Regions from separate parts of the Homo sapiens genome. Here region 2 is linked to region 1. The links are contacts of gene promoters, found by promoter capture Hi-C in human tissues and cell types (Jung and others, 2019). All regions are on one chromosome and are shown on one strand. The core of a region is centred on a gene start or on the middle of the fragment in contact, and the rest is flanking DNA. Distances in the headings are between cores, read along the strand shown.

Evidence for each region. The method cuts DNA at HindIII sites, captures the fragments that hold promoters and counts their contacts. A contact is called where the count stands out against the background at its distance.
Region 2: a contact is called between a fragment that was not itself captured here and the fragment with the promoter of CACNA1S in region 1, in 4 of the 25 tissues and cell types used here (H1 embryonic stem cells, lymphoblastoid cells, mesendoderm cells and 1 more).

The regions. Positions count from the first base shown.
Region 1 is chr1:201,110,561-201,114,643 of GRCh38, forward strand. CACNA1S (calcium voltage-gated channel subunit alpha1 S) reads right to left here and starts at 1,866. Exons shown (of 44, transcript NM_000069.3): 1 at 1,628-1,866. The coding sequence starts at 1,779. It overlaps ASCL5 (achaete-scute family bHLH transcription factor 5), which reads right to left. Exons shown (of 2, transcript NM_001270601.2): 2 at 3,383-4,083. RefSeq lists a silencer at 3,993-4,042. The HindIII fragment of the contact is 14,734 bases long and covers 1-4,083 here.
Region 2 is chr1:201,039,555-201,043,934 of GRCh38, forward strand. It overlaps CACNA1S (calcium voltage-gated channel subunit alpha1 S), which reads right to left. Exons shown (of 44, transcript NM_000069.3): 40 at 3,727-3,977; 41 at 1,950-2,035; 42 at 1,068-1,159; 43 at 677-820; 44 at 1-528. The coding sequence ends at 277. Among named protein-coding and RNA genes, the nearest start is that of KIF21B, 18 kb to the left of the region's middle. The HindIII fragment of the contact is 6,224 bases long and covers 1-4,380 here.

The sequences.
Region 1 (4,083 bases), core at 616-3,115:
AGGGGGTCTTCACACCGCTCCACTCTCAGCGCCTGTCCATGCCCTTGCCTGCTCCCAAGGAGCCATGACTTTGGCAGATTCTGGCCAATCCACAGAGGCTTACCCAGATAAATGGCATGGGAGGGTAAGGGTTGATGCAGGGTAAGGTTGAGAACTCACTGAGTAGGACTGGGAAGGAGAGATGGAGAGATGAATGCTGAATTTCCAGAGCCATGTGCACATGCTGGTGTGCACGTGCTCACACCCATCACACCTCACCCCTCCCAGACACACCCACCCCGCCACAGCCATTTCCAGAGGGTACCCCAGGCCCATGGCTTTCTCGACTTTCTGGCCCATTAGGCAGCAAGTCTGGAAAGAGCTAGAGAAAGCAAGGGAGGAAGCGAGGGAGTTGTTTGGGGGTGGATGGGGAGGCATATTACGTAGTTGGGCTTGACAGAAAAATCCCATTCTCTTCCCAGTAACCTCCAGTGTTTGAGAAAAGAGGAGGGCCACAGGGGCAGGGCGCAGAGGAGCAGAGGATGGAGGAGAGGGAGAACCCACAGAGTAAACCTGATTGCAGAAGAGAGGCAAGGAGGGAGGGCCTAGGAGGGTTTGATGTGGGCGATATACCGCCTGGCCGAGAGCGGGTCAGGGGAACAGGGCTGACCCTGACCCCAAACTATCTCTACTTGCCCCACGTTTCTCTTGTCCTTCCAGTTATCCCTCATTCTCCTTCCTTCTAGGGAACAGCTGGTAGGAGCCCAGCCTTCCAGAACTCTTCAGAAATATTTCAAATATGCCCCACCCTCGCTCTCAGAACCCACTTGACACAGCCCTCCCCTTCTCTCTGTCACTCCTTCCTCCCTTCCCCAAATAACCCAGATATTTTCATCATTCTCCCCACCAGAGCAAATGCAAACATAGCATGAGTTTCAAAGTCCCTGTCCCCAGGGTGGCACGTCTGAGCTAGAACAACCAGGCTTGTTTGGCCTGTGTCTTGGAGCCACTGAGACCAGGTGTCTTTCAGATCCATTTCTCCCCTTGGCTCTGTCCTCAGCTGGGACCTGCCCCCAGAGGAAGCCTTCCTTCAGCTCACCTCTGTCCACTGTCACCCCCCACCCAACCCAAACAAGGGAGAGTTTTCTCAAAGAGGCCATCGCATCTTTTTTTGGTCCCTATCCTATTCTAAAATGAGGCTGGTGCTTCAAAAACCTAGTGGCACCCCATGATAATGTGGATTTGGGCACACATGGGAACAGTCCCCATGAAACAGGCCCCACCCATAGGTGGTCAGTAGGCATCTCTGGTTGTCATCCAGGACTTGGGTGGCCCACTCAGGCCCAGGAAGCCCCACCAAGTCCTCCTTCTCTTCCTCTTCCTCCTCCTCCTCTTCCTCCTCCTCCCCCACCCTCCTCCTCTTCCTCCTCCTCCCCCACCCTCCTCGTCTTCCTCCTCTTCCTCCTCCTCCTCTCCTGCTTAGCCGAGGGCTCCTTCCCCCAGCTCCTCACTCAATTCTGTGAGTTCACCCCATGTCTAAGTGCCAGGCCTCCCTGGCCCTCCTGTAGGAAGTTTGTGCTCTGTGATCACCCCGAATCCCTCCCTCATGACGCACACCCCCCCCCACGGCCCGGGCCCTGAAGGATACTTCCATTCTACAATGCTGATGCAGGCCTTCCTCAGGGGGTTCTCCAGGGTCAGGCAGAACAAGGCCCGGGGTGGCCTTGGCAGAATCTCAGGAACTGGCTTCTTGGGCTGTTTCTTCCTCAGGCCTTCATCCTGGGGTGAGGATGGCTCCATGGCTTCCCTGGGAATCTGGCTTTCTCCTGCTCCCCCACCCCAGTGCTTTCCCTTCCCTGTGTCCCCAATGCCCCCGCCTTGGGGACTAGGCTGGCTGAGGCTGTCGGCTGAGCCTGCCCTGCTGAGCCAGCCAGGGGGCGGGGGCAGGAGTGGGGGCAGGAGGATTACTCTCCTCGCTCCCAGCAAGTAAAATTAGCCTCCACTCGGCTCCCCGCTGCCGGGCCTGAGCTTCTGAGGCCAGGCAGCTGTCATTCCACCCAGCCCAGCCAGTGACTTCCCAATCTGTCCCCTGAGGAGGGTGGGGTGGGTCGGGGGAAGAACTTACACACAGGCCTGGGATGGGGCAGGGGCAGTGGGAGAGGGAGACAGGATGGAAGGTTTCAAGCCTGGGGCAACAGAGGTCAGGAATAGGTAGCCTTGGATATGGAACCTCAAACTGCAGAGTGGCCCCCTCATGCCAAAATTAGGCTTACCCCTCCTCAGCCCCATGACATTGTCTGGAGAAGGCACTGGGCAGCCTAAGTCAGGACAGCTCCACAGCAGCCCCTACCCATCTCAGTATCTGCACCATCAGCCAAAACTCCCCAAGCATACCCTCAACCCACCCCCACAAGCAATCCCATGTCAGAGAAACAGTAAACCCCTCTCCAGTGGGCTAGAAGGCTCCCAGAACAACCCTGAGTGTGCACACCTCTGGCATAGCACCTGCCTCACTGTGGAGCATCTGCTGTGTATCTTTCTTCCCCATCTCCTCCCATCCCTACAGGTGTAAAGGTTGTGTGCATTATCTCTGGGACTCTGGCCCCTTCTCTGCACAGTCCCCCTATGTACTATGCTCCCTGTAAATGTTCACTGAGGCCAGGCATGGTGGCTCACGCCTGTAATCCCAACACTTTGGGAGGCTGAGGTGGGAGAATGGCTTGAGCTCAGGACTTCAAGACCAGTCGGGGCAACGTAGTGAAACTCTGTCTCTACAAAAAATACAAAAATTAGCAGGGTATGGTGGTGTGTGTTTGTAGTCCCAGCTACTAGGGGGGCCAAGGTGGGAGGATCAGTTGAGCCTGGGAGGTTGAGGCTGCAATGAGCCAAGATCTGGCCACTGCACTCCAGCCTGGATGACAGAGTGAGACAGAGTGAGACCTTGTCTCAAAAAGAAAAGTTCATTGAGGATAGCCACGGTAATCCCAGCACTTTGGGAAACCAAGGTAGGTAGATAACTTGAGGTGAGGAATTCGAGACCAGCATGGCCAACATGGTGAAACCCGCATTCTACTAAAAATACCAAAGATTAGCGGGCGTGGTGGTGTGCACCTATAATCCCAGCTACTCTGGAGGCTGAGGCAGGAGAATTGCTCAAACCCAGGAGAAGGAGGTTGCAGTGAGCAGGGATTGAATCACTGCACTCCAGTCTGGGCAACAGAGCAAAACCTGTCTCAAAAAAAAAAAAAAAAAAAAAAAAATTCATTGAACGCCTGAGCTAACAACACTGAATCTTAAATGTGCTGAGCTAACAGCGAACCCCACATATCCTCCCAGCAAGTACTCTGGGCTGGGAGTGAGAATAAGAAAGGGGCACCAGGAAGGGTGAGGGTAGACAATGATCTAGGAATGAGAAAATTCAACAATCCTTTTATTTAGCTCTTTGGTGCCGACGCAGTGCCTATGTACCTATATGCACGCCCCCCTCCCCCAAGGCTTACAGTCTGAGGGAAAAAAACCACAGTCCCCACCCAACCTGGGACAAAACTAGACGACCTCATGGGGGGGATGCGGGGAGGGAGTAACCCCCCCTCCCAACCCAGGAAGCCAGAGAACGCCACCGGGGCACACAGGTCGCCTCTGCTGAGTCTGTAGGTTCGGTCTGGGCTGAGCGCCAGCAGCAATCTGGCCTCCCATCCCTTCCTCTGGGTTCCTTTCTCGAGGAGTAAGCGTGCTCCCAAAGAAGTCGCTAGTATCTGAGGCCATCTGGTGGAGAGCAGTGGCATGGTAACCGAGGGCTCAAAGTCGGGCTCGCATCCCGGGGACTCGCAGAGACTGGACTGCGCCTGCGGCAAGGAAGGACGGAGCAGAGCCACCTGAGGCCGAGCGGGAGCCAGACCCAGGGATGACCGTCCTGGGGAGCCCCTCTGCACCCCGGAGGGGACGCAGGACGCCCGGAGCAGTCCCAGGCCCTGCCCCTCGCTTCACCCACGGAGCTCCTAGGTCTCTATCGTGCCCATCGTACCCGCTGCCCTGCACTTCCGCCCCAAGCTGGTGGAGGAGGGAGGGTGTCGCAGACACGGGAGCGCCGCGGACCTCCTACAG
Region 2 (4,380 bases), core at 1,829-4,328, 70 kb before region 1:
GGAGTGGCCCTAGGCCAGACAGGCACTGACCAGGCCTTTTTGAATGACATTAGAAGCTCCATCCAATCATGCCTCTTGCTGGTGAGGGGCAGGGCCTGTCCAGCTACTTCCTCCGCACTTTTTGAGGTGGTTCCTGACCACCCTGCCTCAGGCCATGCATCTAGCTGCTGAGAGGGAGGGAGGCTGCTGCGGTGGGCTAGCCCTTCTCCACCCCAGCAACTTCCCCACCCCCATTGGTCATGCCAGCTCTAAGCCCATGCTGATGCTGTGTGGGCATCACAGCCTTGGAGGAATAAGGGTCTCCTGGGAGCCCTGGTGTTGGTCGAGGCTGCCCAGGGAGGACCCGAGGTTCAGGCATCCCAGGGAGCTGGCCATGCCCTCTGGGGCCTCTCGTCCTTTCAGTAGCTCTGTTGCCATGATCTCCACTTCCTCTGGTTCCATTTGGCAGGCATCTGCCAGGGCCTGGCCTGTTGCCATGATGAAGTTTGCATCAGCTGCCAAGGTGCCCAGGCCCCCTCGAACCAGAGCCTGCAGGGAGGAGAGTAGGCTGAGTGGGGTCTTCCTGGGGAGCCACATTTGGGGACCTGCCTCTGTTGGCCCTACCCTCTCTCCACGCCAGGCCATCACAGGGCCACCACTCAATGCAGCCACTGCTGTGACCCAGCCCCTGGCTCACCTTTTGGATCAGCAGGGCTGTAGCTGGTGCTGAGCACCTGGAAGTATTCTCCCTGGTGCTCCTGCTGTGGGGTGTCTCCTCATGAAGAGACCCTGGTGTGGAGCTCTTTCTGTCCTCAGGCATGGAGGACTCCACCCTGGGGCACTGTTCCAAAGGTACAAAAGCAAAGACCCCGACAGGGGTGCTGGAGCCCACCAATGAGCAAAATTCCAGATCATCTGAGGGCAACTCAACCAAGATCCACAGAAAGGGGAGGATGGAGGGATCCCGTCCCTTCTGTACTGTTGGACACATTGCTGCCACAGCCTTCCCCTGCCATGATCCCACTCCAAGTATCAGGCCAGGCAGGGTCTCTGTATGGAGTTTGCTCCCAGGCCTCTGCCACTGTTACCTGGCAGGGGGCAGGAGGTGCCTGGCCTCTGGGCATTGCCCTCTGGGTCAGCAGTCCCTTCAGCATCTCCACACAGGGTTTGCTGTGGGGTCCTGTATGCAAGAAGGGGCAAGGATAAGAGGGGCTGCTGACTCCTGCCAGGAGCCCTGAGTCAACAGAGGCTCGCTTGGCTGGCTAGCCACACTCTGTGAGAGCTCTGAGATTCTCAGGGCTGCAGAAGGTGTCTTAGAGGGTGGACACATGATGAGGCCCAATCAACTCCAGGCCAGGCAGGGCTGCCCCAACTTTACTGGCCCTGGTCGCTGTTCTTGAAGGTTTGGGAGAGGGGATAAGGGCCAGAGTCTCTGGCCAAGCTGGTCCTCTGTGGTCCCTGGGTGTGTGCACATTAAAGTGAAAGTGTGTTGGGGAACACAGCAGTATCCTTATTGCCACTAGCCCCCAGCATCCTTGGGGCTCCTACTGTCACACAGCAGTCTAGGACATACTAGACTACAAGATCATTTGCAGAAGGGCCCCAGAGTCAAGACGTCAGTGTGTCCAGGGGCTGCCCTTCCAGGGACCTGGGGCGGTGTGGGGACTCCTGTGCTGGGGATGGTGTAGGGGGCTGTGTGAGTTTCCTGGGAGGCCTGCAGAGGGCCCTTTAGCATGAATGGGCTTTCCCCCTTCCACCTCACTCAGCCACCTAGATGGTGCCCTGCTTCCCCCCTGGACAAGTAGCTGGTCCTGATGGTTTTCCCATTCCAGGGCCCAGATGACTGCCATTGTAACAGGCTCCCAAGCCAGCCCTCCCAGCCAAGTTCCCAGACTCTAAGAAAAGAGTGGGGCTTCCCGGACTCCTCTGGGAGAAGACTCAAGCTTCTTAGATGCACAGAAGGGACTGACCCAGGACCCTGCAGGGTTGGCCAAGGGCTCGTCCTCTGGTAGCAGGCGTCTCTGTCTCTTCTGGGAACTCCCTTTCATAGTGGACACTGAAATGGAAGCAAGGCTGGGTGAACCAGAGAAGGCTGCTAGCTCTCTCGGCATCCCTGCCTCTCTGGCCCCAAACATCCTTTTCCCTCAGAGCCTGTACAAGGCCAACCTAGTGTAGCAGCCGTGACTCTAGGGCTGACGTTTCCACCACTGTGCCCCAGCCAGCCCTGACTCTCTAGGAGGAAGGAGTCCAGAGCATTCCTGACTCCACTCCTTTGCTCAGTTGCTCCCTCTACCCTTTCTACATTCTGTTCATCTTCCAAGGCCCAGCTGCAGCCTCCCAGCCTTTGGAACCCTGCTTCTCCATCTTGGCCACACATAGGATCACCTGAGGAGCTCAAAGGTGAGTGGTGGCTGAGTCCCACACCCAGCATCTGTGGTGAGGCCCAGGCATTGGGATTTGCAGAAGCTCCCTGGATTATCTAATGCACAGCCAAGGCTGAGAACCATTCTAGGTCTTTCCAGCCCATGGTGATCCATACCCCCTCTGCACTCTCAGGACACTAAATATCTGTTATTATTTGGTGTTTTTTGTTTATTTGTTTTGTTTTGTTTTGTTTTTTTGAGACGGAGTCTTGTTCTCTCACCCAGGCTGGAGTGCAGTGGCACAATCAGCTCACTGCAACCTCCACTTCTTGAGTTCAAGAGATTCTTCTGCCTCAGCCTCCCGAGTAGCTGAGATTTCAGGCATGCGCCACCACACCTGACTAATTTTTTGTGTGTTTTTAGTAGAGACACGGTTTCTCCATGTTGGCCAGGCAGGTCTCGAACTCCTGACCTCAAGTGATCCACCTGCCTAGGCCTCCCAAAGTGCTGGGATTACAGGCATGAGCCACCACTCCTGGCCTCTGTGATTATTTGGTCCCAATCATATCACATAACATATCACCCAACAAGACGACAACCCCCTTCAGGGCAGGGCCCAGGGCTGATGCTTCTGTATTTCCACGTTACCTTGCACCATGGTGACCCAAAAAGGTACATGCACCCTTCAAGGCTTGTGGGCTGAATTTAAGGGGTCTCTGTGACTGGAAGGGGTGCAGGCAGCCCTGGCCATGAAAAGGGGCTGGCTGCTGCCTTGTTCTGCTTATTCCTGAGGCCTGGGGCTAAGCCTTTCCAGGCCGAAGAGGCCTCCAATCAGCTGACCTCCTGTCTAGAACAGAAGCTTTGCCTGAGCCTAGCCCCTAAGTTATGATTGCTGAGAAGTTCTCCCCCTCATCCTGCTGTTTTTTATGACACTTACGTAATCACAGATTATATTTAGTCTACAGCCCAAGGTTGGTGAGATGGGAACCACCCAGCACAGCGGGATCTCCTTGGAACCTAAATCCAGTGATGGAATCTTATTGTCCACAGTCTTTTGTGGTATGTGCTACCACCGAAGATCCTCTCCTAACCTATCATGTGTTCAATACGTCTCAGCTCCTAGACTTGCTGAAGCCGACGGAATAAAAGAACCTCTCAACACTGGGGCCAATACTGACATGATGTGAGGCTTCCCCCTGCTGGCCAAAGAAGCCTCTGCCATCGAGGTCGGCCTCTTACATTAAGGTTCAGGATGGATTGGGGCACAAAGGCAAGCAAAAGACACCCTACAAATTTGGGGTACCCTCTTCCAATCCAACCTGGAACCTGCTGACATTGTCCTCCCAGTACCTCTACACCCAGGGATGGCAGTGGCCGCCACTACCTGGAAAACACATGGCTGTTGCTATGGTTGCTGTTGCCATAGGCGACATTGGCGTTGGCATTGTTGGTATTGGCACGAGCCAGGGGGTTGGTGCGTGGATCTTGTGGGAAGTCCTCCAAGAAGACAGGTGACTCCATCTCTTCCATCTCTATCTCAGCAAACTGGAGGGGTCTCTGATTGGCCATGACGGGGGGCAGGGAGTTGGTCCTTTCCAGGAAGTTGTCCACCTGGCCAAACAGGCCTCCAGTCCTCTAGGGGCAAGGAGAAGAGCAGTGACTGGGGGTGAGGGCAGGGAGGGCATGGGGGGCTGTCACTCTGGGACAGTGGTATTGGGAACAAGCAATAGTATTGGGAGACAAATCTTATAAGGCCAAAGGAGGATGGACTGAGTGGTGAGATCAAAAGAAGAAAATTCCCACCCTTAGAAAGTTCTTTGTTTGATGGGGTAGACAGCACACACCTAAGGAGGTATATAGGGGACACAGGCACACAGAAGAGAAGTGTGGTGTAGGGGAGAGAGGGCTGAATCGGGAGTCTGCAGCACTGGGTTCTAGTCCCCGCTCTGAAACTGATTTACTAGGTGATATTGGACATCTCACATGATCTCTGTGGGCCACTATTTCCTCATGAATAACCCAAAAAGACCTAACTAGG